Linked DNA regions of Homo sapiens: region 2 is linked to region 1. The links are contacts of gene promoters, found by promoter capture Hi-C in human tissues and cell types (Jung and others, 2019). All regions are on one chromosome and are shown on one strand. Each heading gives the region's core, a stretch centred on a gene start or on the middle of the fragment in contact. The rest is flanking DNA. Distances are from core to core; before and after follow the strand shown. Region 1 holds the start of SLC24A2 (solute carrier family 24 member 2). Region 2 has its middle 150 kb from the start of MIR4473.

Evidence for each region. Contacts are between HindIII fragments. The study calls those that stand out against the background at their distance.
Region 2: a fragment that was not itself captured here is called in contact with the fragment with the promoter of SLC24A2 in region 1 in 2 of the 25 tissues and cell types used here (H1 embryonic stem cells and stomach).

What each region holds. Positions count from the first base shown.
Region 1 is chr9:19,786,596-19,792,394 of GRCh38, forward strand. SLC24A2 (solute carrier family 24 member 2) reads right to left here and starts at 2,442. Exons shown (of 11, transcript NM_020344.4): 1 at 2,290-2,442; 2 at 1-424. The coding sequence starts at 271. It overlaps LOC124902128 (a long non-coding RNA gene), which reads left to right and starts at 2,564. Exons shown (of 2, transcript XR_007061432.1): 1 at 2,564-2,683; 2 at 4,330-4,465. RefSeq lists an enhancer at 1,358-2,005. The HindIII fragment of the contact is 14,556 bases long and covers 1-5,163 here.
Region 2 is chr9:20,258,993-20,264,791 of GRCh38, forward strand. It overlaps a transcript of SLC24A2 not described here. Among named protein-coding and RNA genes, the nearest start is that of MIR4473, 150 kb to the right of the region's middle. The HindIII fragment of the contact is 9,207 bases long and covers 1-5,799 here.

The DNA of each region.
Region 1 (5,799 bases), core at 1,192-3,691:
TTAAATCTAAGAGAGTTCTCTGATGGTAACCCTGTGCTACCCTAGGGCCACTTACAACACTGGCCTCTCCTGTGCTCTGTGTATCTGTCTCAGAAAAGGCACTGATTGAAAATGAGACAGTGCTAATGGCTACCAGACCCATGAAAAGGCCTAAGACTCGAATTAACTTCAGTTTTTTCTTGACACTATAATGTCTTCTGCAGCCAGACAGTGACTCATCCAAACACCATTTCTCTAGGGAAGTGATGGTGGTGCTTTGTTGCAGATCCATCCTGGGTCTTCTGGTGGATATGGTGATCTTCCAACTTTAGACTCAACCAGATGGTTCTTTCATACTTTTCCTTACTTTATAGTTAACGATGCTTGTGGGGTACTTTCACAATCAGGGATTGTTATGCTTCACAGGAAACTTTCATCATTTATGCTTAAATAAAAATAAAAACGAGAATAAGTAAATCATAAAATCACGTCTTTTTAATAAAGATCTTTGCAGATATGATAAAGTCCTGTCCTGCAGCTGTGCGATCTTGGGTAAGTTACTTAACTTCTCTGTGCCTCAGTTTCCTCATTTAAAATGGGGACAATTACGGTACCTACCACCCAGGATTGTTTTCAAGATGAGTAAAAACATATGTAGCACTTAGTATGGGATGTGGCACTTATGAAGATGTATGTATAAACCCAAATAAATATTTTGGTAAATCCAATGTTAGGTGCAGAGAAGGCAGATGTAAGAATAAAAATTTTACAGGTGAAAATCTATCAGATTATCTCACCTTAAATCATGTAATAACCTTCCAGTGCTATAAAGGTACCTAGACTTCTTTCAGAACTGTCTAGGTACTTGGCAACTAACAATTATTCATTGTTTACTTTTGGTCCAATTACATAATTCTCAGTTGTAGGCAACTTTTTCTGATTTAACCTATCATTTGGAAAGTGAGTGATTCTTTAATTTAGTGATCTTTTTTCTGCACACATAATGATATCAGATCTTATTTTTCATAAAAAGTCTCTCCTTTATCAGATGCGGGAAAGTAGTCCTTTACAAATTTAAGTTTACAAAAAAAAATTCTGGTGACATGCACAAGCTGCCTTCCCTAAACATCTAGACATTGTTTTCAGCTAAATATTTTTTTTAAAAAAACAACCTTTAGTCATATTTAAAATAGGCAGCTTAGTAAGTCAAAGAACTCCCAATGCAGTGAAATAACAAGTAGGCTATTTCGAGAGACCACATGTGTATTTCATAAACAATACGCAAGTTGTAGCAATACCTCTGTCCACAAAATCTGCCCAAAATAGCCCCACCACTGACTTTAATAGGTTAGATATCCAAAGCAGAGTTTTCTTTCTCTATCCCACGGAGGAGATGGGTAAAATAGCCAGACTTGACAGCTGATATTCTGAAGAGTTCTCTTTTTAGTTTTTCTTTAAAAAGACTATTCTTTTCCATATCAACGATTTCATTTTGGAGGCAGTCGCTGAGATAATCTCAGGTGTAAAATAAGCTAATTAAACACACGCCACTTAAATACTGAGATTAGCTGGAGCTCAGGTTTTCAGAGCAAAGCAAGAGCACAAATCAACCCCGCTGAGTTGCTGCTACTCCTGAGATAACCCGACCCCATCACGGAGATTCCCAGGTGGCTGCGAACGTCAACGCTTAGCAGGAACGATTAAGCGATTCACAGCACTCAGGGGATTGTGTAAATGCCCGGCCCGGGCGACCAGCAGGGACAGATTCAACTCCCCGGGCGCAAAGTCATCTCCAGCCCGATCCTCGCTCCCCCTGAAAACCCACCGCTCGTCTCCCCGGGAGCTGCCTCCGTAGGAGAATGTTCGCCCCCAGCCGCGCCCCAACTTTGCCTTGCGTGGTCCCAAACTTTCCCTGGTGGATTAATAGGAAAATAAATCTAAAGGACAGACGCCCCACCTGTGAGCTTGGAGCTGGGTTGCATTTGGTGAGGCGCTTGGCCCGCATCCCCCTGAGTCGTTTGTAGGTGGCTGGGGAATGGAAGCGCCCCTCTGCGCGTCTCCCCCGACGGCAGGCCCTGCCCCACGCCCCCCATCCCAAGCCAAAAGCAAGGGTAGGAGAGGCGGGGGCTCCAAATCCACGCCCCGGAGCACAGAGAGTTGGCTAACTCCTAGCGGGGCCTGGGGCGCCCACATCCACGGCAGAGCCACCTGTGAGCCTGCAGAGCAGCAACGGGATGCGCGCAACCGGGATGCGGGGACGACCGCCACAGCGGCTACAGCGGCAGGCGGGGCGCAGCCGCCCGCACTTACCAGGATAAGATGGGAGGACGCGCACACGGCGGGGCCCCCGAGCGCGGCCCGCCGCTCCAGTCCGCCGGCCCTCCGCCTACCCGCTCTGAGGCCCGGGCTCTGGCTCGCACTGGCTGCCGCTCTCGCCAGCCGGGCTGGGTTCGGGAGGAGACTGAGCCGCTGTGAGCCCGGCGCTCCGAGTCTGGCGCTGCCCGGCCCCCGCCGGCCCCTCCCTCTGGGCTGTGCGCTGTGCGCTGGGAGCGGGGCCGCAGCGCGCTCAGCTCCCGAGTCCTTTGCTCCACGCCTCCTGGGCGCAGAGGCGACGCTGGCAGCCGTCTCTTAGGAGATTTCTCCGCAGTGTGGACGGGGGTCAGGATTTGCAGGCGAGCAAGGGCAGAGAGGAGAAATCGTACAGGTCGGTGACGCGCCTAATTCACAAAGCCTGAAAGTGCTGTCAACTTTGGGGTCATCTTATGCTGGGCACCGCCTCTCCAATTATCTGCAAAAAGTGATAGCAGTCGCGCTTTTCTTTAGGAGGCGATGTGATGTGTAATGGTGGAAAAGACGTTCAATGAAAAGGCACGGAGGCCTGCAGGACAGGCTGTTGGGGTCCAGGGTTTCTTGAGTGTTGGATTTGGATGCTTGGGACACTGCAGGGGCTTCAGTCTTGCAGGGTGACCTTTCATTTCATGGGTGATGAAAGTGAGACCCAAAACCCCGTGTCATTTTGAATCACTGACAGGCTTCGGCTTTTGGCCTCGGGATGTCCAGCCCAGTGCTCCTTCCTGTCCTATCTGGAAAGCAAGATCCCCTTGACCACAAGAAATAGAATCAGGCTTGTTGGGGATGAGAGACTAGAATCTGGGCCAAAGAATGGAAGACGGTGGTAAGACAAATTGGTAGTGAGGGAACCCCTTTTACCCAACCCTGTGACCACCAGCAAAGCTGCCAAGAGGTACCCAACTCGTGAAGCTCTGAAAGCTTTTCGCACATTTTCCCCTCTCCTTACCCTCCATCCTTCTGTTCTCTCCCCCATCCAAGAGGGTTTCTTCATGCCCTCCTTACAATGGGGGTAATGGGTATATCCTGAGAGCTCATGACCTCTGACTTAGAGTACAGCTCTGTAGTCAGACCTCTGGGCCTACTCATCAATAAGTAAAGGGAAGCCTAGGGAACTTAGAAATATTTTTCTTCCCCCCACCCCCCAATCAAAGCCAGGCATTCAAGACTCAACTTTTCTTTTTCTTTCTCCTTTCGAGACTGAATCTTGCTATGTTGCCCAAGCTTGTCTTGAATTCCTGGGCTCTAGCCATCCTCCAGCCTCAGACTCCCAAGTGCTTGCAGACTATAGGTGCCTGACTGAATTTTTTTATCTTTAACTTTTAATTTAGAAAATTTCAAACATATACAAATGTAAGAAAGTAGTATAATGAATCTCCATGGGGCCATAACCAGCTTGAACAATTATGAACTCATGGACAGTCATATTTCATCTATACCCCTTTTTCCTATGTCATCATTTTGAAGCAAATCCCAGAGCATCATATCATTTTATCTGTAAATATTTTCAGAAAGCAAGAAAACTATCAACTACCACTAGGGTTGTGTCAAGAAGGGGACAATTCAAATAGGCTGTCACTGACCAAAGACGGGCTAATTTGAGCATCAAAAAAAAAAAAAAAAAAGATAATCGCAATTGTTTAAAACACATCAAACATGATTATATCTATTAATTGATAATATTTTAAAAACAACTGAACAGATTGATTGCTTGATGGTTCAGAGGGAACCAGCTCATAATTTTCAAAACTGTTTTAGGAAAAGGAAAACAATTGTGCATTTATTTTGCCTTTTCTATACAAATTGGACCTCTGGGTAACCAATTAGGCTTTATTTTTACCCTGCCTTTGTCTACTTTCCTAGTTTAACAATCCTATTCTTCCCTGAGGCAATAGGTGCCTCTGGCTACATGGGGTGCGGAGGGGAATATCACAATGTCTAGAAGAGTTTTTCTTATGTTATCTTCTAGAATTTTTATGGTTTCAGGTTTTTCCCCTACAGCTCAGAGATGACCCTGAGTCTTGATTCGGTGAGAAGAGGAATGAGATCCAGATGAAGACCTCATGAGTCCATAGATTGTATTGGCTGGGATTTGCACTTGGTTGCACATAATAAAAATTCATTCTTGGTGATTAAACCAAACAAGAATTTATTTTTCTCATGGTAAAAAGAAGTCTGAAAGCAGACTGCCCAGGGTTTATAAAATAGCTTCAAGATGCTATCTGGGAACCCAGATCTTTTGATCTGTCTTTCTTAATGTATGGCTTTATCCTCATGGCTACAAAATGGTTTATTCTTTTGCATTACATCTGTGTTCCAGGCAGGAAGAAGGGAAAGAGTGAAGGGTGAAAGGCAGAAGGCCTCCTTGCTAGGCTTTGTCTTTTTATTTAGGAAGGGATTCTGTCAATGCTTCACTTACATTTCACTGATCACGACTTGGTCACAAGACATAGCTGCAAGGGAGTGTAAACAGTATTTCAACTGAGCACATAGTCATCTTTTAGAAAATCAGGGCTCTCTTAGTAAGGGAGAAGGGGGAGATAAATGTTGTGGGAGTGACTACTCCTACACAGTTCCAAAGCATCTCAATGAGATCCATATTCGACTCAAGATTTGACAGTTGACCAAGAACTTGGCAATTAATTGCCACAACAGTTGAGAAGGCTACAACTTCCATCCTGGTAGTAATGGAGAAAAGCAGGGCCTGTCATTTGTCCAAATCACACTACGTGGAAGCAGAGGAATTGAATAACAACTGTAGGTCTCCCAGATCCACAGACCTTATTGCCTAGTCATAAAGAAAGGGTAGCTTCAGGAGAAAATTTACTACCATCAAATGAGTTATTAAACAGTAGCATTTGCTAAGAGACTCAAGTAGATTAATCAATGGGTCTCTTTTTAGAAATTATTAAGGAGCTACTTCTTTATATTTGTAGATACTTGTGTAAGTATAAACATTAGTTGGCCTCATATTTACCCTTCTATTAGCTGTAAGATTGGTTTTAACATATAGTTTATAGGAGTAATTGGTATTACCAGTTAAGAACAATGGGCTCTTTTTGTTTTGAAGAGGAGGCTTTCAAAAATCAGTAATGAATTTTAAAAATCACTAGGTCATACCTAAGCTAATAAAGGATTTTTAATGTAAAACTGCCAAAGGGGTGCTAGTTAATAGTTTTGCTAAGCACCCATATAATTTTCACATAGTTATCTAGGCTGGCATGATTTAAAATAGGTTAGGAATATCCCCTTGCCCCATCTGAAATAACATCCCCAGGGGGCCACAGTGTCTACAATTCCACCATTAGAAATTCATTGCTTTGGCTTTATATTTTATAATTTCAGGAATTTTTAAAGAAGCAAGTAGCTCTGGAGTCATAGTAATGATTAGCAATTTTTTATTGTTTTTGACTTGACATTCAGTCTCAAGGGAAAAAAATTCTAGTAAACTGTCATGAGCAGAAGGTGAAA
Region 2 (5,799 bases), core at 976-3,475, 470 kb after region 1:
AAGGGACTATTAAACATGGAAGAGGGAGACAGAAGGAGAGAGTCAGAGGGAAATGAAACCTGGGAAGAATAGTAAGAGAGATGCAACATTGCTGGCTTCCAAGATGGAGGAAGGAACCATAAGCCAAGGAATGTGAATTGTTTCCAAGAATTGGAAAAGACATGAAAACAGATTCTCCCCTAGAGCCTCCAGGAAAAATTGACGCCCTGCTGATACCTTGATTTTAGCCCAGTGAGACCCATTTTAGATTTCTGACTTCCAGAATTGTAAGATTAAAAGATTATGTTATTTTAAGCCACACAATTTGTGGTAATTTGTTGCATCAGCAATAGAAAATTAATGCACACAGATATTACTATAACCATTTTGATAAAATCACATCACCCCAGCCCTAGAGAAAATTCTTTTTAATCATACTGCTGTGTGGGAGGATTAAATTTTATTAACCAAAAAAAAATTAGTTTGTTTTTAATATATTTATCACACTCGCCCTACCCTGCCCAGCCAAGATAGGAGATGAGCAGTGGTTGAAGAAAACCCCTTGGAAGCTCCTCAAAGAATGAATGAGTTATATGCCTACTGTTTGGGACAGAGTCAGAGACATCAACTGAAACTTAATGATCTCAAGTCTCTGGAGAGAGACTTGAGATCCAAATAGTCCCCAGTAGTCATCTCAAGTCTTAATCATCTCAAGCCTCTGGAGAGAGACTTCAGATTCAAACAGTCCCCAATAGCTATGATTTGAATGTTTGGCCCCTCCAAAACTTGCGTTAAAATTTAATTGCCATTGTAACAGTATTAAGAGGTAAGACCTAGCAGGGCACAGTGGCTCATGCCTATAACCCTAGCACTTTGGGAGACCAAGGTGGGAGGACTGCTTGAGCCCAGGAGTTTGAGACCAGCCTGGGCAACATGGCAAAGCCCCATTTCTGCCAAAAATATGAAAATTAGCTGGGTGGCATACATCCGTAGTCCCAGCTACCCAGGAGGCTGAGGTTGGAGGTCACCTGAGCCTCAGAGGTTGAGGCTGCAGTGAGCCATGATTGTGCCACTGCACTCCAGCCTGTGTGACAGAGTGAGACCCTGTCTCAAAAAACAAACAAATAAATAAATAAAAGGTGAGGCCTTTAAGAGGCAATTAGACCACGAGGGCTCCAACTTCATTAGTGAGCTTAGTGCCATTTTAAAAGGGCTGGTTTGGCCCTTCTTGCCCTCTCTTGCCCTTCTACTTCCTGCTATGGAATAATGCAGCAAGAAATCCATTGCCAAATACTGGCATCTCAATCTTGGACTTCAAAGACTCTAGAACTTGGAGCCAATAAATTTCTGTTTATTATGAATTACCCAGTCTCAGGTATTCTGATACAGCAGCAACAGTGGACTAAGAAGCCAGTCATCCAAAAGAAAACTACTAATTAAGAAAGTTAATGGGAAATAATAACTTTTTAAAGTGAGGTGTAGAGAACCTTTTGTAACACTAGGGATCTTGGTTTCTGGGTAGCTAAATACAATTAGATATCAATTTTCAATTTCATTTTATAGAAATCCATATGACATAGCTCAGGATTAAAACACTGTCTTAGTTCATTTTGTTCTGCTATAACAGAATACCACAGACTTCGTAATTTCCTTTTTTCCATCTCCATTGCTTTTATTTTTTTACTTTTATTATTTCAATAGGTTTGTGGAGAACAGGTGGTGTTTGGCTACATGAATAAGTTCTTTAGCAGTGATTGCTGAGCTTTTGGTGCACCTATCACCGGAAGAGTGTACACTGTACCCAATGTGTAGTCCTTTATTCCTCACCACCCCTCACCCTTTCCTCCGAGTCCCCAAAGTCCAACGTATCATTCTTTCTTTTTTTTTTTTTTTTTTTTTTTAAAGACAGAGTCTCACCCTGTTGCCCAGGCTGGAGTGCAGTGGCGTAATCTCAGCTCACTGCAACCTCCACCTCCCGGGTTCAAGCGATTCTCCTGCCTCAGCCTCTCGAGTACCTGGGACTACAGGCACCTGCCACCACACCCGGCTAATTTTTGTATTTTTAGTAGAGACGGGGTTTCACCATATTGGCCAGGATGGTCTCGATCTCTTGACCTCGTGATCTGCCCGCCTCAGCCCGGGCAGTAAAGTGCTGGGATTACAGGCACGAGCCACTGCACCCGGCCCAATGTATCATCCTTATGCCTTTGCATTCTCATAGCTTAGCAACCACATATGACTGAGAACATACAATGTCTGGTTTTCCATTCCTGAGTTACTTCACCTAGAATAATTGACAGACTTCATAATTTAAAAAAAACTGAAATGTATTTAGCTCATGGTTGTGGAGGCTGGGAAGTCCAGTGTCAACAGGCTGACATCTAGTGAGGGCCTTCAGGCTGCATTATGCCATGGTAGAAGTGCAAAAGGGAGGATAGGCCAGCAAGCATGTGTAAAAAGAAGAGTGCCAGGGTCAGACTTGCTTTATAACAGCCCACTCTCTCCAAAACTAACCCACTCCTACAATAACAACACTCATCCATTCATGAGGGCGCCGCCCTCATGACCCAATCACCACCTGGTAGGCCCCACCACCCAACACTGCTGAATTGGGGATTAAGTTTCCAACACGTGAATTTTGGGGGATGCATTTAAACCACAGTACTATCATAACTGTATTTTCATTTTTCTATAAAGTTTACTATCTTCTACTGGTAAAGTAAAGCCTGGCCATTTTGAAAATTTGTAGAAAACACCAAATCTTTTTTTTTTTTTTTTTTTTTTTTGAGACTGAGTCTCGCTCTGTCACTCAGACTGGAGTGCAGTGGCACGATCTCGGCTCACTGCAAGCTCTGCCTCCCAGATTCACGCCATTCTCCTGCCTCAGCCTCCCGAGTAGCCGGGACTACAGGCGCCCGCCACCACGCCTGGCTAGTTTTTGTATTTTTAGTAGAGACAGCATTTCACCATGTTAGTCAGGATGGTCTTGATCTCCTGACCTCGTGATCCGCCTGCCTCGGCCTCCCAAAGTGCTGGGAATACAGGTGTGAGCCACCGTGCCTGGCTACCAAATCATTTTTTAAATAACTCCATAAACAAAAGACAACATTGCTAACATGTTACATTTTCTCTGTACAGATAGGAAAAGGCAGCCCCAAAAAGAGAAATAATGCTGTAATACTATTATTCTCTGACCAAGCTTGCTTCCAGCTTACTCAGGGTTTTACTTATAAGCAAATAAAACTGACATCCCCAAAGGAGAAAGATTCCACTGGGGTTGGGCGAACATGGTTTGAATCTTTGTTTTGGCATGTCCTACCTATGTGACCCTGGCAAATGAGTTATTCCCAGCAGCCGAAGTTTCCTTGTCTATAACATGAGAATAATCAGACCTATTCCAGGCTATACATGAGGACTGAAGACCAAGTGCCTAGCACATTGCCCAATAAAGGAAAGTGGTCATTGTTGGCTCACAAGTAATTTTTTCAGGAATTCTCTGGCAGAAATTTTTTCAGGATTTCTAGCAGCTTTGCTGGCCACTGGCACCTCAGAGCTAACCATAGCCCTGCTGCCTGCGTTAAAAGCCCATTTACCTCAGTACAGCCCAGAAATAACCTCTAATATCTACAACTGGGGAGGTGCTTATTTTCCACTTATGAAACCTTATCATGAGCATTATCTCATTTCATATTTGGGCACCAGCCTGTATAAAATGGAAACCATCGGCTGAATTTGTTTAGAATCTGCCATCTGGCTGCTTCCCCCTGGCTCCCTGAATGAACTCCTTCTGCTGGAATGTTCTCACCCATTCTCTTCCCACTCTCTGCCCCTCGTCACGCCCTCCTAGGTGTCTGCACTGAAGTTAGTACATTTTTCCACTGCCATGTGTGCCTTTCTATTCTGCAGGGTTGGTTTTGAATCTTTTTTTTCCTAACCTTGAGAACAGGAACCATGGTGTTTTATTCTTCCCAATGCTTGGCAGAGCGGCACTTGGTAAATGTCAGTTAATGTTCCCTGAGAGAAGAAATAAATCAGGGTGGAATAAATAGGTAGATAAATGGAATAGGTAAATTCATGAATTGTCCTCAATCCACTGGAGCCTGCACCTGTGCTATCACTGGGTGTTTCTTGTAGCCCAATACCTAACCCATTTCAAAACTCATGTGTACTTTTATGTTTCTTCACTACTGGTTTGTTCTGAGGTTAACCTGGAAGGATAGTCAGCAATAAAATTAACCAAGACCTGGATGGAGGAGACAGAGAGAGAAGAATCCTTTTCTTTTTGGTGGAGGTGGGGGTGAGACAGGATCTCACTCTGTTGCCCAGGCTGGCCTTCAGTGATGTGATTATGGCTACTGTAGCCTTCACCTCCTGGGTTCAAGCAAGCTGCTCACCTCAGCCTCCTGAGTAACTGGGACCACAGGTGTGCACCACACCTGGCTATTTTTTAAATTTTTTGTAGAGACTGGGTCTTACTATGTTTCCAGGGCTGGTCTCAAACTCCTGGAATCAAGCAATCCTCCCACCTCGGCCCCCCAAAAGCGTTAAGATTACAGGCAGGAACCACTGCATCCATCAGAGAAGGATTCTTCACATGCTTTCTAGTGAAAAATTAGGAAGCCAGCAAAATTCCATGGGCACCTTCACACTGTGCTTCATGTGAATAGCAGTCCTGAATCACCATGCACTACATGTTTACATGAATGATGCTTTTTGTAGTAGCCAGCACTAGTAGCTAGCACTAACTTTACCCTATAGTATGTGTTCCTTTTGGAAGACTTGCAATGTTCCTTGGTGCCACTGGGACAAAGCCCATCCTGAACACTTCCATTGTTGCAGGAAGTAAACCTGCTTCCCCTCTCCCTTGTGCCCTCCTGGATATCCCACCCGCCCCCCCCCCCCCATTAAGGCTCTAACACAATGAAGGCTTTAAGTGAACATCATGTCTGGCTGGGCAGATGCAATCTCCTCTCTTCCTCAGAAGTTTGGATGGTTTCCTTTCTTGCTCTGCACCTCTGAGCTGGCCCACGTATCTGGAATAATTAGCTCTTGACAAGAGAGACCCAATGCTTCTTCCTCCTGCCAATCTGACTTCTATTGTAGTCAGCCCTGAGGGCCCCCATCCCAAGCAACACAAAGCATTGCATGAGTCCAGAGATGCTCAGGTGTAACAAAGGCAGTTAGGAGCAAGGACACTAAAGGAACAACACCTCTGTTGAAATGTCAGTTCTGACACAACCTCTCTGCACCTCAGTTTCCACACCTATAAGGTTAGCATAAGTATCTACTTCACAGTTCCCTTGAGAGGAAGATTACATGAGTTCCTGCTTGTAAAGTACTTGGAACAAAGTAATCCCCTTTTCTCAGATAACTCAGTTCATCTCATCCACAGTGGGCAGGGCCACCAAAAAGCCAAAGGTCAGGACAGCTGCCCCTGCTTCATGTGTTGCAGCTGAATTTGCCCTTCTCCAAAGATTCTCCTTAAGAAAACATCAAGTCAAGAACTTCTGAAACAAATCTTTTCTTGGTGGAATGGTAGCATGACAAGAGGTGGAGGTGAAGTATCAAACACAATTGGCATTCAATTCTGTGTCCATCACTTACTAACTATGGAAATTTGGACAAAAGACAATCTCAGTTTTGGGTTCCTCCTCTGGAAGATGAGAGCAATCAATCATATCTAAATTATATAGTGTCCTTGTGATATTTGAGATCATATGAAAAATAACCTGTGGTAAAATATAGGTGCTTAATATTTGTTTCTCTTTTTCCTGACGCTAAACTTTTTGTTTTATAGAAAACAGAGGCCTAAAGGAGTTA